Linked DNA regions of Homo sapiens: region 1 is linked to region 2. Evidence: promoter capture Hi-C in 16 types of primary human blood cells and fetal thymus (Javierre and others, 2016). All regions are on one chromosome and are shown on one strand. Each heading gives the region's core, a stretch centred on a gene start or on the middle of the fragment in contact. The rest is flanking DNA. Distances are from core to core; before and after follow the strand shown. Region 1 holds the start of YIF1B (Yip1 interacting factor homolog B, membrane trafficking protein). Region 2 holds the start of IGFLR1 (IGF like family receptor 1).

The links. Contacts are between HindIII fragments. The CHiCAGO score rates a contact against its expected background, and 5 or more counts as called.
Region 1: a contact is called between the fragment with the promoter of YIF1B here and the fragment with the promoter of IGFLR1 in region 2, in 1 of 17 cell types (fetal thymus). The highest score is 7.2, in fetal thymus.

The regions. Positions count from the first base shown.
Region 1 is chr19:38,311,439-38,318,438 of GRCh38, forward strand. It overlaps YIF1B (Yip1 interacting factor homolog B, membrane trafficking protein), which reads right to left and starts at 4,509. Exons shown (of 8, transcript NM_001039672.3): 1 at 4,422-4,509. The coding sequence starts at 4,479. RefSeq lists a silencer at 4,344-4,833. The HindIII fragment of the contact is 4,086 bases long and covers 3,849-7,000 here.
Region 2 is chr19:35,739,889-35,744,878 of GRCh38, forward strand. IGFLR1 (IGF like family receptor 1) reads right to left here and starts at 2,564. Exons shown (of 5, transcript NM_024660.4): 1 at 2,508-2,564; 2 at 1,136-1,335; 3 at 492-676; 4 at 1-200. The coding sequence starts at 1,292. It overlaps U2AF1L4 (U2 small nuclear RNA auxiliary factor 1 like 4), which reads right to left. Exons shown (of 6, transcript NM_001040425.3): 3 at 4,435-4,533; 4 at 4,124-4,257; 5 at 3,921-4,016; 6 at 2,639-2,915. The coding sequence ends at 2,831. RefSeq lists enhancers at 1-512, 860-969, 2,317-2,746 and silencers at 650-779, 4,082-4,242. The HindIII fragment of the contact is 10,043 bases long and covers 1-4,990 here.

The DNA.
Region 1 (7,000 bases), core at 3,259-5,758, 2.6 Mb after region 2:
ATATTACAATAATCCTGTGGATGAACTCATCTCATCTTCACAACCACCCTGTTTCTGCCAGCTGCCAATGCTATCATCATCCCCATTTTACATATGAGAAAAGCAAGCCCTAAAGAGGCTCAGGCCTTTGCCCAAAGTCATAGTATGAGAGCCAGGTTTCAAAAGTTTTTAAAAGGTCCCTGTGGCCTCACGTGGGGAACAGATGAGGGGTGGGCAGGGAAGGGAGAGAGGCTGCTGGGGTGATCCAGGTGGGAGACCATGGCAGACAGGACTGGGGGTGTAAAAGAGGAATGGGTTATTTCTGGATCAGTTTCAGAGCTAGGAGGGACAGGACTTGCTGAGGGGTGCTCAGAGGAGGTGTGTTAAGAAGTGGGAAGAGGCCAGGCGCAGTGGCTTACGCCTGTAATCCCAGCATTTTGGGAGGCCAAGGCAGGTGGATCACCAGGTCAGAAATTCAAGACCAGCCTGGCCAACATGGTGAAACCCCATCTCTACTAAAAATACAAAAATGAGCTGGGCATGGTGGTGCGTGCCTGTAATCCCAGCTACTCCGGAGGCTGAGGCAGGAGAATTGCTTGAACCGGGACCGGGGAGGTGGAGGTTGCAGTGAGCCAAGATCGCGCCACTGCACTCCAGCCTGGGCTACAGAGCGAGACTCCATCTCAAAAAAACAAAACAAAACAAAACAAAAAACGTGGTAAGAGGCTGGGCATGGTGTCTCACGTCTATAATCCCAGCACTTTGCGAGGCTGAGACAGGCAGATCACCTGAACTCAGTTCAAGACCAGCCTGGCCAACATAGTGAAACCCCATCTCTACAAAATATAAAATAGCAGGGCATGGTGGCGTGCACCTGTAGTCCCAGCTATTCAAGAGGCTGAGGTGAGAGGACTGCTTGAACCTGGGATGTCAAGGCTGCAGTGCCAAGATCATGCCACTGCACTCCAGCCTGGGCGACACAGCAAGGCCCTCTTTAAAAAAAAAAGAAGTGGGAAGAGCCAATACTGTCTCTATAGATCCTGGTTTGAGTAATGAGGCAAATGGGAGTGCTCTCTACTGAGATGGAGAAAATAGGGAGGGCGGGATTTGAACCCAGCACTCTGCCTCCAGGGCCTCTGTTCCTAATCAATAACCAATGCTACCCTGCAAATATCTGCTGAGATCCTACTATGTGCCACCCACTATTGCAGGCACAGGGAATGAGTGATCAGATGACAGTGGGAATGGGGAGAGGAATCGAATTATCCACGTCATGACTTTCTCTGCACCTGGATGTTCTCATCTACACAACGGAGTTAACTGTCCCACCTTGCAGAGCTGTTGTGACACTCATAAACTCCTTGGCCCCACAGAAAGCAGTCCATCCATGTCACTCCTGATCAGCTACTAGCCTCGAACCCTTCCTCTCAATTATTCGAAGCCTGAAGACGGACCCAGGTCTCCTCAATTCCAAGGCAAGCAGCACTGGCCCCAGCCTCTCTGCAAGCCCCACTTCCCTTTTCTTTCCCCTACTTCTTCTTCTTTTTTTTTTAGACAGATTCTCGCTCTTGTCACCCAGGCTGGAGTGCAATGGTGCGATCTCGGCTCACCACAACCTCCACCTCCCGGGTTCAAGCAGTTCTCCTGCCTCAGCCTCCTGTGTAGCTAGGATTATAGGCGCACGCCACCAAGCCCAGGTAATTTTTGTATTTTTAGTAGAGATGGGGTTTCACCATTTTGGGCAGGCTGGTCTCGAACTCCTGAGCTCAAGTGATCTGCCTGCCTTGGCCTCCCAAAGTGCTGGGATTACAGGCGTGAGCCACCAGTGCCTGACCCAGAGTGATCTTTTTTTTTTTTTTTTGAGACGGAGTCTCACTGTCACCCAGGCTGGAGTGCAGTGGCGTGATCTCAGCTCACTGCAAGCTCCGCCTCCCGGGTTCACGCCATTCTCTTGCTTCAGCCTCCCAAGTAGCTGGGACTACAGACGCCCACCACCACGCCCGGCTAATTTTTTTGTATTTTTAGTAGAGACGGGGTTTCACCGTGTTAGCCAGGATGGGCTTGATCTCCTGACCTCATGATCCGCCCGCCTCGGCCTCCCAAAGTGCTGGGATTACAGGCGTGAGCCACCTAACCCGGCCCAGAGTGATCTTTTTAAATACAAATAAGACCACGTCATCCTCTGCCTAAGATCACTATTCACTGTGCTCTGAAAAAAATCCAAAGGCCTGCTAGGCCCTGCATGACCCACTCCTGCCAACCACCATGGTTTGCAACCTCTCCTGGGGATCCCATGCACCAGCCAGCCACATGGCCTTTCAGGCCCCGACTCTGCCAAGCTCCTTGCCCCCACTGGCTTTTGAATATGCAGAGCTTTCATCCTGGAACAACCTCCCTCCATCAGCACCTCCCAATATCACACAGAGGCCCCTGCCTTTGCAGAGACCTTCCTCACTCCTCCCTGTAATGCACTAACCTCGTCTGGTTCCTTCTCATAACATGTGGTGCTTTCTTTTTCTCTTCTGAGCACTCACAATAATTTCTGAATATATATTCATATGTCTACTTGTTTACTTGGCACAGGCCTCCAATGCCTTTCCTTCTCTCTCTCTTTTTTTTCTTTTCTTGAGGCGTTGTTTCGCTCGTTGCCTAGGCTGGAGTGCAATGGCGCAATCTTGGCTCACTGCAACCTCCGCATCCTGGGTTCAAGCGATTCTCCTGCCTCAGCCGCCCGAGTAGCTGGAATTACAGGTGCGCGCCACCACGCCCGGCTAATTTTTTTTTTTTTTTTTTTTGAGATGGAGTCTCACTCTGTCACCCAGGCTGGAGTGCAGTGGTGAAATCTCGGCCCACTGCACCCTCCACCTCCCAGGTTCAAGCAATTCTTCTGCTTCAGCCTCCTGAGTAGCTGGGACTACAGGCGCACACCACCACGCCCAGCTAAATTTTCTATTTTTAGTAGAGATGGGGTCTCACCATGTTGGCCAGGCTGGTCTCGAACTCCTGACCTCGTGATCCTCCCACCTCGGCCTCCCAAAATCCTGGGATTATAGGTGTGAACCACTGCGCCCAACCTAATTTTTTTGCATTTTTAGTAGAGATGGGGTTTCATCATGTTGGCCAGGCTGGTTGGCTGGGCACCGTGACTCATGCCTGTGATCCCAGCACTTTGGGAGGCCAAGGCAGGTGGATCACCCTCTTTTTTTTTTTTTTTTTTTTTTTTTGAGGCGAAGTCTTGCTCTGTCGCCCAGGCTGGTGCAATCTCGCCTCAGTGCAACCTCTGCCTCCTGGGTTCAAGTGATTCTCAAGCCTCAGACTCCCAAGTAGCCGGGATTACAGGTGCTCGCCACCACACCCGGCTAATTTTGTGTACTTTTATTAGAGATAGGATTTTGCTGTTACCCAAGCTGGTCTCCAACTCCTGGCCCCAAGTGATTCGCCCACCTCGACCTCCCAAAGTGCTGAGATTATAGGTGTAGGCCAGCACGCCCAGCCTGCCCTCTCACTACAAATCTCCTTCTCCTGGGTAACTTTTCATGATCAGAATTATCCTCTTCCATGCCGGGTGCGGTGGCTCACGCCTGTAATCCCAGCACTTTGGGAGGCCTAGGCGGGCGGATCACCTGAGGTCGGGAGTTTGAGACCAGCTTGACCAACATGGAGAAACCCCGTCTATACCACCCCGGGCGTGGTGGCCTGCGCCTGTAATCCCAGCTACTTGGGAGGCTGAGGCAGGAGAATCGCTTGAACCCGGGAGGCGGAGGTTGCGGTGACCTGAGATCGCGCCATTGCACTCCAGCCTTGGCAACAAGAACAAAACTAGGTCTCAAAAAAAAAAAAAAAAGAAAAAGAAGTATCCTCTTCCAGGAAGCTTCACTGACACCCCTAGGCTGGGTCATGTGCCTCCTCAGGGCTCCCACAACATCTCCATCCCAACACAGGGCCTGACACATGGGAGTTGAGACAAGTTAGGTTGAATGAATAAATGAAACACACAGCACACTCACGGAGATGAAGAGACAGGAAAAGGGGGCCAACAGCACAATACAGGTTCGCTTCTTAAATGAGCGGTAGGCATGGCCCTCTGCGCTCCCGGGGGGCCACGAAGCTGTCCTAAGGGTGTGGGCGACAGCAGGCGGGTACTGGGGAGCCACGGAAGGGTGGGGAGCAGGGAAGGGCGGATCGCTAACTGCAAATGAATGAAAGTTGCATTTCTCTGCATATCGCACGCTATCCAGTCCCAAGTTGTTTTCTTCTAAAGGAATTTCCTAAAGAATCGCCCCCCAAGGGGCCTCCTACCCGAACCTGGCATCCCAGCGCTGTGCACACCTCAGGGTTCCAGATCCTTGATCTCGTGACCTCTGACCTGCAGTGACCTCGCCAACCGACGCGGCCGCCCCGCCACGCCCCCGCCCGCCCGATCTCCTCCGCCGGCCACGTACGCCACTTACGCAGCCGGGGCGTCCCCGCAGCCGCCGCCGCCAAGCCTGCCGGGTGCATCCTTCGCCGCCGCCACCTAAGCCGCGGTTCGGAGCGTGCCCGCCCGGCTCCCGTACCCACGCCCCGCCGGCGAAGAGACAGCCAATGGACGTCAGGATTGAGGGAAGGCCTCGCCCCCACCCCCCCGACCCCTCCAGCCCCCCCCTTCACGGAGGCCTGGACGACTGGGCGGTGCCTTACGTAAGAGGCGGAGACTGGGCTACTGGGCTCATGCAGTAAAGCGAGTCAAGGCCTGAGTGGCAGGAGGGCGAGGCCGGGACCAATCCCAGGAGGAGGCGGTGTCTGCCACGACAGAAAATGAGTGTCTGCCCCTTGCCGGGGCTCACGCCCCTAACTCCAGCACTTTGGGAGGCCGAGGCGGGAGGATTGCTTCAGCCCAGGGATTCGAGACTAGCCTGAGCAACATAGTGACCCTCGCCCCGCCCCATCCCTACAATTTTTTTTTTTTTTAATTTAGCCAGGCTCAGTGGCTTAACGCCTGTAATCTCAGCACTTTGGAAGGCTGAGGATCGCTTGAGCCCAGGAGTTCGAGACCAGCCTGGGCAACAGCGAGATCTCCATCGCTACAAAACATTTTTTAAAATGTAAATATCGAGCGAAAAGGTCGATGGGAAATGCAGTTCTCTGCAGACAGCCGTTCAGTTTGGGTCATTGAGAGCACTGGAGAGCCAGAAAAGGCTGTGGAGCAAGGAAAAGAGAAACATTTGTGTTCCTGAGGGGCTAATTGGAGTTGTAGGGGCTTATACAATTTTTGACATCCCTTAGGTATTAAAGTAAATATTTATTTATTTTGAGACAGGGTCTTCCTCTGTTTTCCAGGCTGCCTCGGACCCCCTGAGCTCAAGTGATCCTCCTGCCTCAGCCTCCCCAGTAACTGGCACCACAGGCATGCACCACCATGCCCAGCTAATTTTTAAATTTTTTGTCAAAACAGGATCTTGCTATGTTGCCCAGGCTGGTCTCGAATTCCTGGGCTCAAGCCATCCTCCTGCTTCAGCCTCCTAAAGCATTAGGATTACAGACATGAGCCACAGTGCCCGGCCTTAAAGTGAATATTTAGAGTGAGAAAAGGAAACCCAACAAGTTAGGTGAGAAGAACCAGGTGTCTCTCTTGGAATAGATCTTAAGGCAGTTTCCCAGAAATTCATAAAAATGTTCTCACATTGCAACCTGGTTCCCTCTGTCCACCAAAAGCATTCTACAACCCCCAGCAACTCACAGCACACAGGCGCACCTGCAAGTGAAGAGCCCTGCCCACCTAGCGTCCTTAGTCTCTCCTCTCTCTGACTCTCAGTCTCCCCCCTTCTCTCCCTCTCAGACTCCCCGACTTATCTCAGGAAAACATAGTGGTGGAAGTTACTTCTGCGCAGCGATAGCGCATCCGGAAGGATGTCAGCAAGTGACCCTATCGCTGTGGCTTCCTCTTCCTCCTCTGAGACGTTGTCTTTTTGGAGACCTTAAGGGCTGCTCCTGGTTTCTCAGTGATGAGTGCTGGCTCCACTGTGGTTCCTTTTTGTGAGCGAAATGCCCGCATTCTTCTTCACCTCTGATTTAGCCTCTGTCCCCTGGGCTCCAACACCATTTTCTCCTCATCCTCAGCCCTCTCTTGCTCTGGTTGCTCCAGATACATCTCTTCCATAAATGTTTTTTTTTTTCTTATTGCTTTTTTGTTTGTTTTTTGAGATGGAGTCTTGCTCTGTCGCCCAGGCTGGAGTGCAGTGATGCGATCTCGGCTCACTGCAACCTTTGCCTCCTGGGTTCAAGTGATTCTCCTGCTTCAGCCTCCCGATAGCTGAGATTACAGGCGTGTGCCATCGCACCTGGCTAATTTTTTGTATTTTTAGTAGAGACAGGGTTTCGCCATGTTGGCCAGGCTGGTCTCGAACTCCTGACCTCAGGTGATCCACCTGCCTTGGCCTCCCAAAGCACTGAGATTACAGGCATGAAACACCGCACCCAGCCTTATGTATATATATTTAATTAATAAAGCAAGTACTGCCAAGTGCAGCGGATCACGCCTGTAATCCCAGCACTTTGGGAGGCCAAGGCGGGCAGATCACCTGAGGTCAGTTTGAGACCATCCTTGCCAACATGGCGAAACCCTGTCTCTACTTAAAATACAAAAATTAGCTGGGTGTTGTGGCGGGCATCTATAATTCCAGCTACTTAGGAGGCTGAGGCAGGAGAATTGCTTGAACCCAGGAGGCAGAGGTTGCAGCGAGCCGAGATTGTGCCATTGCACTCCAGCCTGGGAGACAGAGCGAGACTCTTGTCTCAAAAAAAAAAAAAAAAAAAAAAAAAAAGCAAGTTCATTAGTTCATTGGCTTCCTGCTGGCCTCATGTTCACCCCTTACCAGTTGTGTGACTACTACTTTTTATTTTTTTGAGGCAGGGTCTACTCTATCACCCATACTGGAGTGCAGTGGTGCGACCATAACTCATTGCAGTCTCTAATTCCTGAGCTCAAACGATCCTCCTGCCTCAGCCTCCCGAGTAGCTGGGACTACAGACGCATGCCACC
Region 2 (4,990 bases), core at 1,314-3,813:
AACAGGAGGATCGCTATCACCGCCAAGGTCAGGAGCAGGACCAGCACCACGAGCGGAAGGAAATTCGGCCAGGCCTGCTGAGGGACAGGCTCAGGGGTCCTCCAGGCAATGGAACTTGCTGGTGAGCTGCGCTCCTGGGAGCTAGGGGCGCCTGGGTTTCCAGGTGTGAGGGGGCAGTGCCCCTTGGCAGGGACCGGCCTCTGGGGATAAGGGGTTGGAGTAAAGCTGGAGGCCACACTCCACTCCTGCCCGCTCCCAAACCTCCCAACTTTATATCCTTTAATGGGGCCACATCCCATCTGATACGGTATCTGATAAGGTAGTTGGGCCCCGCAAGGCCCAACTACCTTAACCTAGGACCTCCCGACCCCTGCAGGCCAGCCACCTCCTGAAACCACGGCCCCACCCCTTACGTGGGGCTACGCCGGCTCCCTACATCTAGGCCCCCCACCTCCAGCACGCCCTTGCCCTGCCGGGAGTCCCATCTGCACCTCTCTGCAGCGCCACGGGGTTCTGCCCCCGCCCGCGGCGGGAGTAGGGGTCACGGCTCCGCCGCCGCAGGGGCTACATAGCTCCGCGCCGTCGGGGTTGCACTGCCCAGAAGAACACTTTCGGAACGGGGGCGTTACGAAATCGCCGTGGTCATTGAGTCCGCAGTTTTCCCGGAACTCATAGTCTAGCGGGAAAGCTGCGCTCCAGTGCGGCCGCCTAGCCCGCCCCTGCGCGGGCAACGCCCTCTCCCTTCGCCCTATCCCAGCGTGCCCCGCCCCTCCAGGACGCTTCCAGCCTATTAGCGTGCGCCCCGGTCTTGTCACTTTTCTCCGGGCTCGCCTTTTCACCCCCCTCCAGCCTGCTCCGCACGAAGCTCCGCCCACTCCCGGCTTCTCTACATAAAGCCCACCCTTTCCACGCGGCCCCTATCCCGCCTCTCCAGCCATATCCATTCGCTGTTGCCCTACGGTAGCCCGCACTATCTGCACAGGCTCTGCCTGCCATCCCTGTCTGATCTGCATAAGGCCCACCGCTTAGACCCCTAAGCAAGCCTCTCTGGCCCGTAGCCCACAGACCTCGCCCCTTCCCCGCTCCCTATCACCTGCAAGCTCCGCCCAAGCAAGGCTCGGTCTCGGATTCTCACCCGGGCAGGGGGGCGGCCCGAAGCGTTGCAGGCAGCTGCTGCAGCACTTGTTGTCTGGGTTCCAGTATTCAAGGCGGCCGCAGTACTGGGAGGCTTCCGGCGGTGGCGCCAGGGCCAGAAGCAACAAGGCCGTCAGGAGGCATCGTCCAGGCCCCATCTGGGGGGCCGTGATAGCGGGACTTCCAAACACAGCGCCTCTGCTACACTTTCCGGGGAAATCGGGCAGAAGAAAGGACGCGGTGATGTGGGGGAACAGAATTCTCACGCCTCTTCGGAAGCCGGGAATCTACCCCCGAGCCCTCATCCCCCAACTGAGCCGGTTATCAGAGAAGCCCACAAGGCCACTAGGGGACTAACAGGGCTGCGGATCTAGATTGCAAGAATGCATATCCCACCTCTGCCGTGTCCTCACCCACCCACCCTCCCTTTTCCATCCCTAAAATAAGACAATGATAGCACCTGTCTCATAGGGTTATTGTGGAGAATTAGAACCGTCATTAGAAGTAAAGCAGGGGCTGGGTGTGGTGGCTCATGCCTGTAATCCCAACACTTTGGGAGGCCAAGACAGGAGGATCACTTGAGCCCAGGAGTTCGAGAGATCAGCCTGGACAACAAAATGAAACCCCATCTTTACAAAAAAAAAAAAAAAAAAAAAAAACAGCAAAGCACTTTGCCAAGTGCAGTGGCTCACGTCTGTAGTCCCTGCTACTAGGGAGGCCAAGGTAGGAGGATTGCTTGAGCCATGAATTACAGACCAGCCTGGGCAACACAGCAAGACCTCATCTCTAAAAACAAAAAAAACTGGCCGCCGGGCGCAGTGGCTCATGCCTGTAATCCCAACACTTTGGGAGGCCCAGGTGGGTGGATCACCTGAGGTCAGTAGTTCAAAACCAGCCTGGCCTACATGGTGAAACCCTGTCTCTATTAAAAATACAAAATTAGCCGGGCGTGGTAGCGCATGCCTGTAAATCCCAGCTACTTGGGAGGCTGAGGCAGAATTGCTTGAACCTGGGAAGTGGAGGCTGCAGTGAGCTGAGATCGTGCCATTGCACTCCAGCCTGGGCAACAGGAATGAAACTCCTTAAAAAAAACAAAAACAAACTAAAGTGCTGAAAACAGCACCTCACATACAGTAAACTCAGTGTTTAAGTGTAAGGCATTACTAACTCCCATCACAATTCGGCAGGCACGGAGGAGTCAGCCCCATACTGGCTGGAGACCACCTCCCAGCACCTCACCTCACCTTTGAATCCTAATCTCCTTGGGGCTAGGGCTCCTCCCACCTGCCACAACCAGGTCTCTCCCCCTTGAATAAGCCTCAGATGGAGGTGCTAAGGTTTTCAGCACAAAGGTGTCCCCACCCTACCAGTACCGTTAGGGTCCTGGGTCCCAAGCTGGCCGTGCCAAGTTCCTCAGCTGAAGTTGTGGCCAGGACCCAGTCTTGTTTCCCCTTTTCGTCACATGTGTGGGTGGAGGGAAATGCCAAACCACAGCAAAAGCAAGTTGATGCCGAAGTGAAACACGCAGCTTTATTAAGACAGGGGCGGTAGAAGAAGGTCTCCATGCTGAACAGATTACATTATGGAGCCCGGGAGCCTGGGAAGGATGGGGCAGGAGAGTGAAGGGGGCTTTGAGGAGAGGTCCTGCCAGGAACATCTGTCCCTGTTGGGGGTGAAGGGTAAGGGGGCCAGGGCCTCAGAAGCGGCCATGCCAGTGATCAGGGGAACACCGATGGTTCCTCTCTCGGGGATGGTGGCCAGTATGGAACCTCGGGGGTGACCTGGGAATAGGAGCGTTGAGAGTTCTGTTAGAACCCTGAGGAGTGGTGCAGAGATCCTGCAGGCCTGCCTCTCTGCTCTGGGATGAGGCAGGAGGGTGCTGAAATAACTAGAGTTCTAAGACACGACCTCAGTGGCCAGTATCAGGGGAACTCAGTGGCCAGTATCAGGGGTGGCAATCCAGGCTGGTCGTGGATTAGGGGTTCAGGCTGGTTTGGGGATTGGGACTTAGGTACTGGTCTCCAGATGGAGCTCAGAACTACTCTTAGGGTATAAGAGTCTTGGGAATGACCGGGCGCAGTGGTTCACGCCTGTAATCCCCACACTTTGGGAGGCCGAGATGGGTGGATTACCTGAGGTCCGGAGTTCGAGACCAGGCTGGCCAACGTGGTGAAACCCCATCTCTACTAAAAATACAAAAATTAGCCAGGCATGGTGGCAGGTGCCTATAATCCCAGCTACTTGGGAGGCTGAGAAAGGAGAATTGCTTGAACCTGGGAGGCAGAGGTTGCACTGAGCCAAGACTGCGCCTTTGCACTCCAGCCTGCGGAAGAAGAGCAAAACTCCGTCTCAAAAAAAAAAAAAAAAAAAAAAAAAAAAAACAGTCAGCCGGGAGTGGTGGCTCACGCCTGTAATCCCAGCACTTTGGGAGGGTGAGGCAGGTGGATCACGAGGTTAGGAGTTCAGACCAGCCTGGCCAAGATGGTGAAACCCCATCTCTACTAAAAACACAAAAATTAGCCGGGCATGGTGGCAGGTGCCTGTAATCCCAGCTATTTGGGAGGCTGAGGCAGAGAATTGCTTGAACCCGGGAGGCGGAAGTTGCCATGAACCAAGATGGTGCCAATGCACTCCAGCCTGGGCAACAGAGTGAGGCTCCATCTCAAAAAAAAAAAAAAAAAAAAAAGATTCTTGGGAACGTGGTTACTGGGGCTTAGGGTTAGGCTCATCTGAGGATATAGGGGCCTTAGGACATGAGGAGACATAGCAGGCTGGTCCTGAGGTACCTGCGCCTGGGTCCCCGCCCATAGAGCTGCCTCTGGAGGTTCTGGGAAATGGGCCGCAGATGCATGAAGTTGCAGAAGCCACCTCGGGTACATTCCCTGCATAGAGGGTAGAGAGATGGAGGAAGCCATTGTCACTGACAGCCCCTACCACGCATTCAAAGTCTGGGATTCCAAGTGCCCATCCCACCCTTGAACTACCATACCCCATCTCATACTGGCGACAGCATGACTCCCGGAAGTCAGTGACAGGAGACAGCTCACCGTGCACAGCCTGCCCGTTGAACCAGCGGTTACTGAGTTCAGCCACGGCCCGCTCTCCATCCTCCTCCCTCCGGAACTGCAGGAAATGTCAGTCAGGGTCAGCAGGAGAACTCAGAGATCTTCAGGGGACTCACTACCCGCTCTGGGGCTGGACTGGATTTAGTGATGAAATTCAAGCTGAGAGCCTACAGTGGCCACCATCAGGCATTGAAACGCCTCCACTTCTGGGCCCTAAGTGGGGGGCAGCAAGCACCTTGACATAGACGTTGCCCACGAGGTGGTCCCCAAGGTTGTCGCACACATTCATCTCTTCAATCTCCCCATACTTCTCCTGCAGTTCTGTGAACACCTCCTGTGGAAGACGGGGAGGAACTCAGCTGAGCTCCCACAAGAAACCCCATCTGCCCCTACCAACCCTCACCTCGAAGAAGCTATCATAGTGCTCCTGCACCTCCACGTCACTCACATGACCTGGGGTGGGGGCGGGCAGGGTGGAATCAGAGTGTAGCCTACTGGGGGCTGTTCACCTTGCCCCCAGGCCTGGTCCCTTACTCACAGTGTGATCCGTCTGCAGTTTGGGCTGTGTTCTGTGGATTCCGGTACAGGTTGAGCAGCACTATGGTCTGCACAGAATTTAAAAGGGGCGGGGCCTGAGCTCAGAGGGCAGGGCTGCATGAACAGAGAGTGAGGCATGAAGGTTGGGGGTGGAACCTTACACCCCAGCCTAAGCATCATGAGTGCATCGGCGATCCTTTGCCCCTAAGAAACCAGAAAAGGGATGGAGGGGACTGGCAAGGATGAACAGCGGG